2 separate regions of the Homo sapiens genome follow, and region 2 is linked to region 1. Evidence: promoter capture Hi-C in human tissues and cell types (Jung and others, 2019). All regions are on one chromosome and are shown on one strand. Each heading gives the region's core, a stretch centred on a gene start or on the middle of the fragment in contact. The rest is flanking DNA. Distances are from core to core; before and after follow the strand shown. Region 1 holds the start of PBOV1 (prostate and breast cancer overexpressed 1). Region 2 has its middle 4.8 kb from the start of ARFGEF3.

What was found. The method cuts DNA at HindIII sites, captures the fragments that hold promoters and counts their contacts. A contact is called where the count stands out against the background at its distance.
Region 2: a fragment that was not itself captured here is called in contact with the fragment with the promoter of PBOV1 in region 1 in 1 of the 25 tissues and cell types used here (hippocampus).

The regions. Positions count from the first base shown.
Region 1 is chr6:138,216,021-138,221,389 of GRCh38, forward strand. It overlaps PBOV1 (prostate and breast cancer overexpressed 1), which reads right to left and starts at 2,471. Exons shown (of 1, transcript NM_021635.3): 1 at 1-2,471. The coding sequence starts at 2,375. The coding sequence ends at 1,968. The region is part of intron 4 of ARFGEF3 (ARFGEF family member 3); the gene reads left to right. The HindIII fragment of the contact is 10,102 bases long and covers 1-5,369 here.
Region 2 is chr6:138,154,713-138,159,618 of GRCh38, forward strand. No RefSeq gene overlaps it. Among named protein-coding and RNA genes, the nearest start is that of ARFGEF3, 4.8 kb to the right of the region's middle. The HindIII fragment of the contact is 5,876 bases long and covers 47-4,906 here.

The DNA of each region.
Region 1 (5,369 bases), core at 1,221-3,720:
CAGGCTGGAGTGCAATAGTGCAATCTCAGCTCACCGCAACCTCCACCTTCCGGGTTCAAGCAATTCTCCGCCTCAGCCTCCTGAGTAGCTGGGATTACAGGCATGTGCCACCACGCCCGGCTAATTTTTTGTGTTTTTAGTAGAGATGGGGGTTCCACCATGCTGGTCAGGCTGGTCTCGAACTCCCGACCTCAGGTGATCCACCCACCTCCCAAAGTGCTGGGATTACAGGCGTGAGCCACCGTGCCTGGCCGGGGTATTTTTATATAACAAACGCCTAGTAAACATCTATAGAAAATACACAGATGAGTGAATCGTGGACAGAGTTTACTATTTGTATGGCTGGTAGTCCTAAGCTTCAGGGTGTCCAATTAGAGTTCTGGTATTACAAAGTGGAAGGGAGTGTGCTTTTAAATTATGTATCAGTACTGTCGTCAGTGCCTTGGTCTGGGAGCAAGAAACACGACAAAGGAAGAAAGACTGTTTGAGTCCCCTCTCGGTAATGTTTTAATGGCAGAGTCTTACACTTGGGAAGTTTCTTCAGATGGTTAGTTTTGATGTTCTTAACTCGGGGCATTTGGTCTTCTAGAGTTCCTTTTGGAAAGAATGTGATCATTAGTGAAGTTTGAGAGTGAAATGGCTAATTTGTCTTGCTGCTTATAACAGGGAGAAATCTCTTCTTAGCCTGAAGCCATTGAGACCCTTCAGAAGATTTGTAGCAATCTCTAGCGTTAAGGAAAAATCCAATGTTTGATGAAAAATATTTAACTCCTGAATGTGTCGTTGTTGGAGGTTGATCTAACAAGTTTGCAAACATATTGTTTGTGCAGTTAATGCAGGGAAGTGTCTAAAATATGTGGTTCTGCTAAGTAAATGGTTCTCAAACAGCCTTCCCTCTTCCTGCTCATAAGGTTGAGTGATGAGAATCTTTTTCTACTTTGCAAACAGACTAATATAATTCTTACTGAGTTTTCCTCCCATCTTTCTTTACCCTTTGATATGACTGCCTTCAGCAGATGGTAAAAATATATGAAAAAGTAATGAACAAACATTGAAAGCCTGGAGATGTGATTTTCCTTTAAATAGTTTATGCATTATTTTTGAGATGGAGATTTTCATATTATCTATTAATATCTTTTTAAAGCACCACCATTTCCAAGTGTTTACTATATTTCAAAATCACTCTACTAAGTGTCTTTAAACTTTTCTCACATAATCTTAATTTAAGCGCATATAAATGCAGAGGCCCTCATCACTTACTCTGGATGTTCTATAGATCCAAACAGAATGGGAAAGTTCTCTGATTTTTTAATCATTTATTCAGCAAATATTTGATTGTTTTCTATGTGTCAGGCACTGTGCTGGGCACAGAAGATCCCATAGTGAAGAAAACAAAACCAAAGAAAAACACAATCTGTGTTTGGAGGCCAATGATAGAGTCAGAAATCAATTAAATATATAAATACACTAGTCCCCACTTATCCAAAGTTTCACTTTCCTTGGTTTCCATTACACATTGTAATGTCTCCTCAACTCTTGACTCAGGCATGACTTGAACATTTCACTAGTTACTAAGCGAAAATTAGTGGTATACTATAAGTATTGTTTTTATCCCTCTGGTGCCTAGCGGAGCATCTGGCACATGGCTTACTAATTGCTCGTTAGTTTAGTTATTGACTAATGGAGAGACAGAAACACATGTGGTAGTTTTTAATGGCCCACTAGGATAAATAACAAACTAAATTGAGATAATAGATAATAATCTATGAGTTCAAGATTGAGAAAGATCAACATGGGTTTGTATTTTAGAATTGAAATAACCTCCTACATCATCAAATTCTTTTCATAAGTAAATTGAAGTTGGAATGGTTCAGTTACTTGGCTGGGCTTAAACAGTCATTGGTAGCAGAATTGCCTTTTCAACCATTTTTATTTTTCTGGAAAGGCTTTGCAGCAGGGCTGAGAGTTTATATGATCTGTGGATGTATAGTTTTGGATAAGTAGAGAAGACAGCATTCCAGACCTAGGGTCTGAGTTAACTGCAAAGTCAATGTGAATAATATGGCTTCTGAAGATAATGAGGAACATTTCATTGAGGAACCTTTCATGGTCAAGTGTGTCTGCAAGGGTGTGAGAATTGCATGGTGTGACTGTTCTATGGAATAATCAATGAACTCTGTTGCCTTTTGACTTCTTTTTACTTTTTCTTTTTTTCGAAATACCTTGTAGCAGAATGGTAAGAGCACAGTTTCTGGAGCTAGAATGCCTGGTAGCCTTGGGAAGTTACTTAATCTGTGCCTCAATTTTCTGATCTGTAAAATGTGAATAATATTGTGCATATCCTCATATTTCTGGTTCCTTAAGAAGGCCCTCATATTTACTACTGTAAATTGAATTGTAGCTCTGTAGCATAGAAGAATAATTTTGTAAATTATTATACATCAATTAGCCACCTCGATATATTTAAGGTCCTAACCATCAGCCATGATTCCACAATCTAAGGAAAACACCCACTCTTTAGCTGAGCCAATGTTTCTGTTCCATCCTACGAGGTAGAGTTTTATGATTTGATTATTCCAGAAGAGCTCTGTAATTATTGTTTCAGATGTAGAGAATCAGGTTGGCTGTAGCCCTTTAACAACCCTATCTTGAGGAGCTTGCTTGGTCAGGTCTATAAGTATAAACAATAAAACTATCAAAAGTTCTGTGTTTGTATGGGCAGAGACAATTTGAGATGAGGCTCTCATTCTGCAGAGAGTCTGAGAGGGAAAGAGAAAAGGAAGGAGTGAGGGTGTTATCTGGGGCATACCAATGAAATTTGACTTCTTAAAAACCCAGCTGTGAGATTAAGTCAAAATCTGCTTGTTACAGATTAAACTTGAAAAAATAAGTCGTGGAACTTTTAAATTTGTTGCTTTTTTAGACCTTTTTTTATTGATTTATTAAGGAAATATATTTTTGTTGCCAACAGTGCATAAAACTATATAGGATTAAAAACAAAATATTCAAAGGCAAGGGTTTATAATTCAGTAGGAAAGCAATAAAGAGGCAGCCAATTACCACAATTCAAGGTAGCTGTGTATGTTTAATCAGGAGAAGAGTTCAGGAGGCACATTCAGGAGGAAGAAGCATGTTTAGCAGGGCAGAACATCCTTTTAAGGAGGGGATACTATTTGAGTTGGACTTTGAAAGGTAGGTGGGATTCAGATAATTATGTTGGGAGAGAGGGCATTCTTGGTAGAGAAAAAAAGTCCTGGGGATGGAAACTGAGATTAGTGAGGGATAGTGGACGATGAGCCTGAAAGGGTGGTTGAAGAGGCTCTAGAGGGCCTGCTCTCTGTAAGCAGGCAAGTGATCCAGACAGAGCTGGGTGTTAAACATGGAAGGTGAGGAGGGGGAGGATGGGTTTGCAGGATGATTCAGGAATCAGCAGAACCAAGTCTTTGGCATCGTGAAATATCTTATTGGAAGAGGCTGAGCCAGAGGTACCAGGACTTAATCCAGGTAGGTGGCAGTAGGAAGGGGCCACCTGGGCTGAATGCAGAAAGGTGTGGCTGAGTGCACTGACCTGGTTTGCAGAATAAGGAGCAGCTGGTGACTGGCAGTGACATGGGCAGTGAGTAGGTAGGAGAGGGAAAGCCCAAGTTGCCTGCAGGACTCACAGCCAGAGTTTCTGGTTGAGTGATGGTCTTACGGGACTAATTTAAGAGATAGAGACTGAGTTCATATTATCAGGTCTCAATATTTATATTTAAATTTTGACATAGATGTGCGTGTGTGTGTGTGTGTGTGTAGAATATTTTAAAAGATGAATTTAAAGAAGTGCTAGTAGTTTAACATTATGGGCATTCCAAAAGAGAAAAAGTTAATTGTAAATCCCATCATGTTGACTGATTCTTGTATACTGATTTCTCATCATATCTACTTATGTGTTTATAGTTATATTCATTGTGTGTATAGGATTTTTTTTCTTTTATCTTCTCTTTTCTTTTCCTTTTCCTTTCTTTTTTTCTGCAGGGTTTCACTGTCACCCAGGCTAGAGCTCAGTGATGCAATCACGCAATCACAGCTCACTGCAGCCTTGACCTCCAGGTCTCAGGTGATCCTCCAACCTCAGCCTACTGGGTGCGCCACTATGCTCAACCAATTTTTGTATTTCTTTTGTAGAGACAAGGTTTTGCCATGTTTCCCAGGCTGGTCTCGAACTCCTGTGTTCAAACAATCTATCTGCCTTGGCCTCCCGAAGTGCTAGGATTATAGGTGTGAGCCACTGCAGCCAACCTATTTCTTGCTTTATACTTTAAATCATAAGCATTTTCCACATGGTTCTCTCTATATATCTATATATATGTAGTCCTTTAAGTACAGTTTTAATGTTAGCATAATTAAGAATTTTTTATTTTTATTTTTCTATTATTTCCATTGTATTTATTGCCAATACAGAATACTTCCTGTATGTTCTGGATGAAAGAGAAATCTGTAGGCTGCCCTAAGCAACTATCTGTAATTTATATCTTTACTTCTATGAGAAAATGCATCCTGCATTCTACTGAAATTTTAGGCTAGAGTCTATTTCTAAAACATGAACTACTTGTACAATGGAACAAAAAAATAAGTCTTTTCCACTCAACCTTTGGGTGCAAGTTCTAATACACTTGCTGGTCTTCATGTCTAATATACTTGCTAGAAGGACATCGACTCAGCCCTTCCACAGTAATTTCTTTTTCCCATCTTAATCACATATTATCATCCAGCAGTAATCAACACGTAACTGACCAATCCAGTTTGTTCTCCATAAGGGTTGGAATTAGTAGATCTCATCTTGACCAACTAAATTGCCTTGCCATATAAACACAGCTGAATCTCCTAGAATTCACTTGAAATAGTAAAGCAAGTTCATATTCTAAAATAAATATGGTTGAGACTATGCCTCATGTATCGGAAACCACCCCAAAATGCAGTAGGCAGTTCAGGCTGGGCTCGGCTGTCCTGTTCTTTTGCTGATCCCAGCTGTGCTTGCTCATACATCTTCGGTCAGTTGGTGGCTTGGCTGGGGCTGGCTGACTTACAATTGCTGCATCAGGTCCAGGTGGGAAGATTGGTACCTCTTTCTATAAGGTCTTTCATTTTCTAGCATGGCAGGTTATCTACATGGTGGCAGTGGCAGGGAAAATTGAGGAACTCAGAGGCCCCAAGTGTTTTGGGGGTTTGGTTTGTTTGCTTGCTGATGTCCCATTGGTCATTTCAAGCTAATGGTCACTCCACACCTCATATTTAAAAGGTGGGGAAATAGATTCTGTTTCTTGATGGGGATATCTACAGGGGTAATTAAGAATTTTAGAACAAGAAATGTTTAGCTGTTTACCATA
Region 2 (4,906 bases), core at 1,735-4,234, 61 kb before region 1:
AATCCAAAAATATGCTTATTTTATTTTCTGATTATACTGCTGCATATTTGGGTATAATTTTATATTGCAAACAAGTTTCTTTACTACTGTATTCTGTGAATCAAGCATTAGAGTAAGTGAAAAGATTGACGATTTGAATATCAGGTAAAACAAGCATAACAGAGATTTGAGCTGGAAGTACAGATTTAGCATCATGAACCTAGGTGGTCAAGATCTGAAGCAATGGCAAATTCAGTAGATATTATCAGATATGAAAATTTTGTGGGATTGAGACTGCTTCCCAAGCATTCACAAATGGGGAACTACCTGGGTCCTCCACACTTCATAGAAGCCTTCTACACATCCTTAGTCAGCTCTCTTTCTTATTTTCGAATTTTGGGTCCTCTACCTGTTCATTTCTCCTCTTACATTCAGCATATGTCTTCTTGTTTCATAAGCAAAACAGAAGTCACCAGGTGTAGCTCCCACAAATTCCTGTCTCTACATCAACAACTAAACAATATAAAAAATCAGCTTTCTATCTTCATGCCCCACTCATATCCGTAAATTGGCCTTCATCCCCTAACTGGGCAATGACTCTGTCTATACTCTAGGTACCCTCTTTCCCATCTTCTTAGCATACTTGTTTCCCCCATTAGGCTGGCATCCTCCTGCCTTTTTTCAACCCTGCTTTTATGTCTTTTTTTCTTTCACTGTATAAATATACTCCCCACCACTAGGCTGTTTAATCACAAATTTTCCTCTGGTCTGGTGTTTTCCAAATTTCATGCTTCTCCCCATGAGTGGGTTGTGAAATTAATGAGTCTGTTTCATAAAAATATATTAAGAAATGAATTAGTATGGAACCTACAATATCAGAATGCAACACGTATATTCCTAGCAGGAGGTGTCCACATTGCCACAAATCCTGCAGACAACTGAGTTGAGTGACAGCTGGAGAATGAGAGGTAATGAATATATGCATTGGCTGGGAACTGCCAGCCAGTCACTCTTCTGCTCACTGGTGTCTCAGCTGATTTTTTGGAATTGATCATAATTGTATCAGGAGAGTTCATGTTTTATAGTTTCATTTTATGTCAATGTAATTTATAGCTAATTATAAAGTGAGGTTTAGAAGAACTTTATCTAGTCTTGGCAAAGGCAGGAAGACTTTCCACCAAGGTTTGGCTATGAGTTAGAAGATTTCAGTGTGCTTTTTGAATTAGGCATAACTGTCAGGCATTTTTCAACCTTGTGATAATTGTACATTTTAATCAAAGTTATACCAACTATCCTTAACACAGTTTATTTTATTATTAGAAGAAATAAAAACAGTCGTGTGAAAAACACAGAGGCATGTTCTGGCAGAACTACCAGATTTGGACATGTACATAGTGACAACATTAAGAAAAATGTCTTTTTAAATTAATAAATTCTATTATTTGAACTATAAGCCAAAGAAGTGCAAATCATTTTAATAATGATAAAGTATAGCTTGTCGATTACTCAAAACTCACTGAAAATGTATTATTTGTAATGACATTCTTGTAAATAAAAGCTTAAGATCTTCCAAAAAAATCACTTGAAATATAGCAAGCCAAATTTGTTCATAAGGCCTTCAAATATTTTCAAAGAAAAAAAGATGTAAATTTGTCAACATGATTTCACATTGGTTTTAATGAAAAAGCATTACTATCATAATTAGTCACATGTATGCAGCAAAAGGAAAAAAATTAAACAGCTCCTAAAAAAGTTGTTCTCAGCATACATGGTTATAGTGAATATGATTCTTGATAAATCAGCAGAGAAATTTAAAATTATACTTCTAAGTCATATTATAGTTCTAAAGAATATACAGAATAGAATTTATACTTATTAGGCACATACAGGCAGACACAGGTTGTATAATTCCACTTAATGAGAACACTAATATTTCACATTACTTAGACTTTAGTTTATGCCAAATATGTATGAAAATATGATTTTTATAAAGGATTTATTGTGTTGTTTCCATTTAACCTAACACAAAACTACTTGAGAAACATAAGTTCAACTGGAAAATTGTAACGGAATTGTGAGTGATTCAGAAGTAAATACGACCAGGAGACATGGAAAGATAATTTAAAATATTGTTAGAAGCTACTCTGTACATTATTTAAAATCTGTGTTTTATACATTACAAAGATTTTGCATCCTAACAATTGCACTAAATCTTTTGGACTTGAAAACAAAAGTAACGATAGTTGTTTAATTTTATTAAGGGAACCTTCAATTTTTGATATGTTTTGTTCAGAAATTGGATCTGTGGCTAATGATTCCCCTCCCTATGCCATAGGAAGAGAGCTGTGATTACTCAGGTATATCTCTGCAACTCTGTCTTCACCAATGCAATATATGAGATTTGTGTAACTTCTGCCTCTGAGGCATGGACTCCTCTACTCTCTTTTCCTCTTCCTATGGGCTAGAACACAATGTGCCTGGTACATATCTTTGAGACACACAAATGAGAACAACCCCCTATGGGATGAGGAAACAGTAACATTTAAGGTATATGGTCACTTAATCTCCTGGGACCTGCTGCACCAACCTCAACCACTGACTCAGGGTTTAATTGAAGAGAGAAGTAAGTGTCTATGCTTTGTAAACCACTGTATTGTTGGGTCTTTGTTAAAACAACTTAGCCTTTCCATCAAATAACATGTACATGTTGCATCGTACTGAAGTTATTGATTGTTACGAGGAAAGTACTCATTAAATTATATGAACTCAGGAACAGGATTCATATTTTCCTATTTGAAAAGCAATCTCATTTGGCATTTTGAAGATGATATTTCACCAGAAGAATCTGCATATAGGACTAATTTTTTTGACATTTTAAACTAACTGAATTTGGATCTACAGGGAAAAAGTAACAATATATTTCAAGATGTTTAATATATCCAACACTAACCAATACATTTTAAGTAATCACTGTGGTTACTATGTGTGCACAATTTTGTAACACATAAAGAGAAAATTAATGAAGACATTTTGAATAGAAAAATGATATTAGTTATATTACGTCTCTGTTATAAACTTTAATAATTTCAAAAAGAGAAATTTGAAATATTGAGGAAAAAATTGATAAAAGATCTGTTTTCCAAAATCCTGAATCCATATTAAAGTTGATACTCAAAGAAGAAAGCTAATCTCTAATACTTTAATACATTGAAGAATGATTATAAGTTTATAGCCATTTTAGATTAAGATTAAAGAAGACTTTCCATTGCTAAACAGAGTTCACTGTTGTTATTAATAGCATTCACAGCAACTTATTTGTGTGAGCCAGAATTTTTAAGCAACAAAACTAAAAACATTGGAAAGAAATAGGCATCACAGAGCAAACCACTGTGATTGTCCTCATGCCCGCAACCCAGAATGAATTTAGGAACAGGCAAGTATGCCTGCTGCAGTGAATGAAATCATGCTTAGTAGTAACTATTCTAGTTAACAGTATGTACTGTTTTATACCTAAAACTGTTGTTTCAGTTTTTTAACATATCTATACATGTATGTAAACACTGGATGATAATGTAAAGCATATTTTCTACTGTGAGTTATAGAAAAAAAGTAGAAAGGTGTTTACTTTCCTTCATAGCCATCCACTGGGTTGTTTATCCGTGTGATTTCACCAGCTCTTAATCCACTGCAACCAGGCTGCAGTCATCATTTCTCCCGGGTCTGGCTTCCACGGGATCCTAACTCTCTCACATTCATTACATCATTTTCTGTGTTTATCTTTGTCCTTTCTCTGGATGTTGACCTTGTTGCCTGGATACTACTTTTATTTCATTTTTGTGCCACTTTTTTTTTTAGAATAACACTTCTGATTATAAAAGTAAAAATATTTAATGAAAAATAAACTCACCTATAAGCCCATCAAAGATAATCACTTAATATTTTGTATGTACTTTTGATAGATATGTATGTACATATATGCATGTATTTTTGAACTTATATATACATCTACATCAAATATTTAAATAAAATTGGAATCATGTAGTATACAAAAGTACATAGCATTTTACAATTTGCTTACTTAAGTATATAGTATAAGCCACTTTTCTTTTTTTTTTTCTTTCTCTGTCTTTTTTTTTTTTTTTTTTTTTTTTTTTTTTTTTTTGAGACAGTGTCTTGCTCTGTCGCCCAGGCTGGAGCGCAGTGGCGAGATCTCAGCTCACTGCAACCTCTGCCTCAGGGTTCAAGCACTTCTTGTGCCTCAGCCTCTTGAGTAGCTGGGATTACAGGCATGTGCCACCACACCCGGCTAATTTTTGTATTTTTAGTAGAGGCAGGGGGGTTCTCACCATGTTGGCCAGGCTGGTCTCCAACTCCTGACCTCAGGCGATCCACCTGCCTTGGCATCTCAAAGTGCTGGGATTACAGGTGTGAGCCACTGCCCCCGACACCACTTTTCATATTATTCAATATTTCTCTCCCACATTATTCTTTTTAAATTAAAAACAATTTTTTTTTTTAGTAGAGATGAGGTCTTGCCATGTTGCCCAGGCTGCTCTCAAACTCCTCGGCTGAACCAATCTGCCTGCCTCAGCCTCCGAAAGTGCTGGGATTACAGGCATGAGCCAACATGCCTAGTCCCCCACATTATTCTCAAAGGCTATATAATATGATGCTTTATGAATATATCATGGGTTATCTATCCATATCCTTGTTGCATATTTAGTTTTCTCTTTTTTTAGAATTGAAAGACACACTGAAATGCTTGTAGAAAGATCCTTATCCATTTCCATAATCACTTTCTTAGGATGAATTCCCAGAAGTGGAATTGTTAGGTCAAAGCTATACCTATGCCACATACACATCCAGGCTCCCTCCCTCCAGGAATGTAGTACCAAGTTACACTCTGACCAGCACCCAAGACATGAGA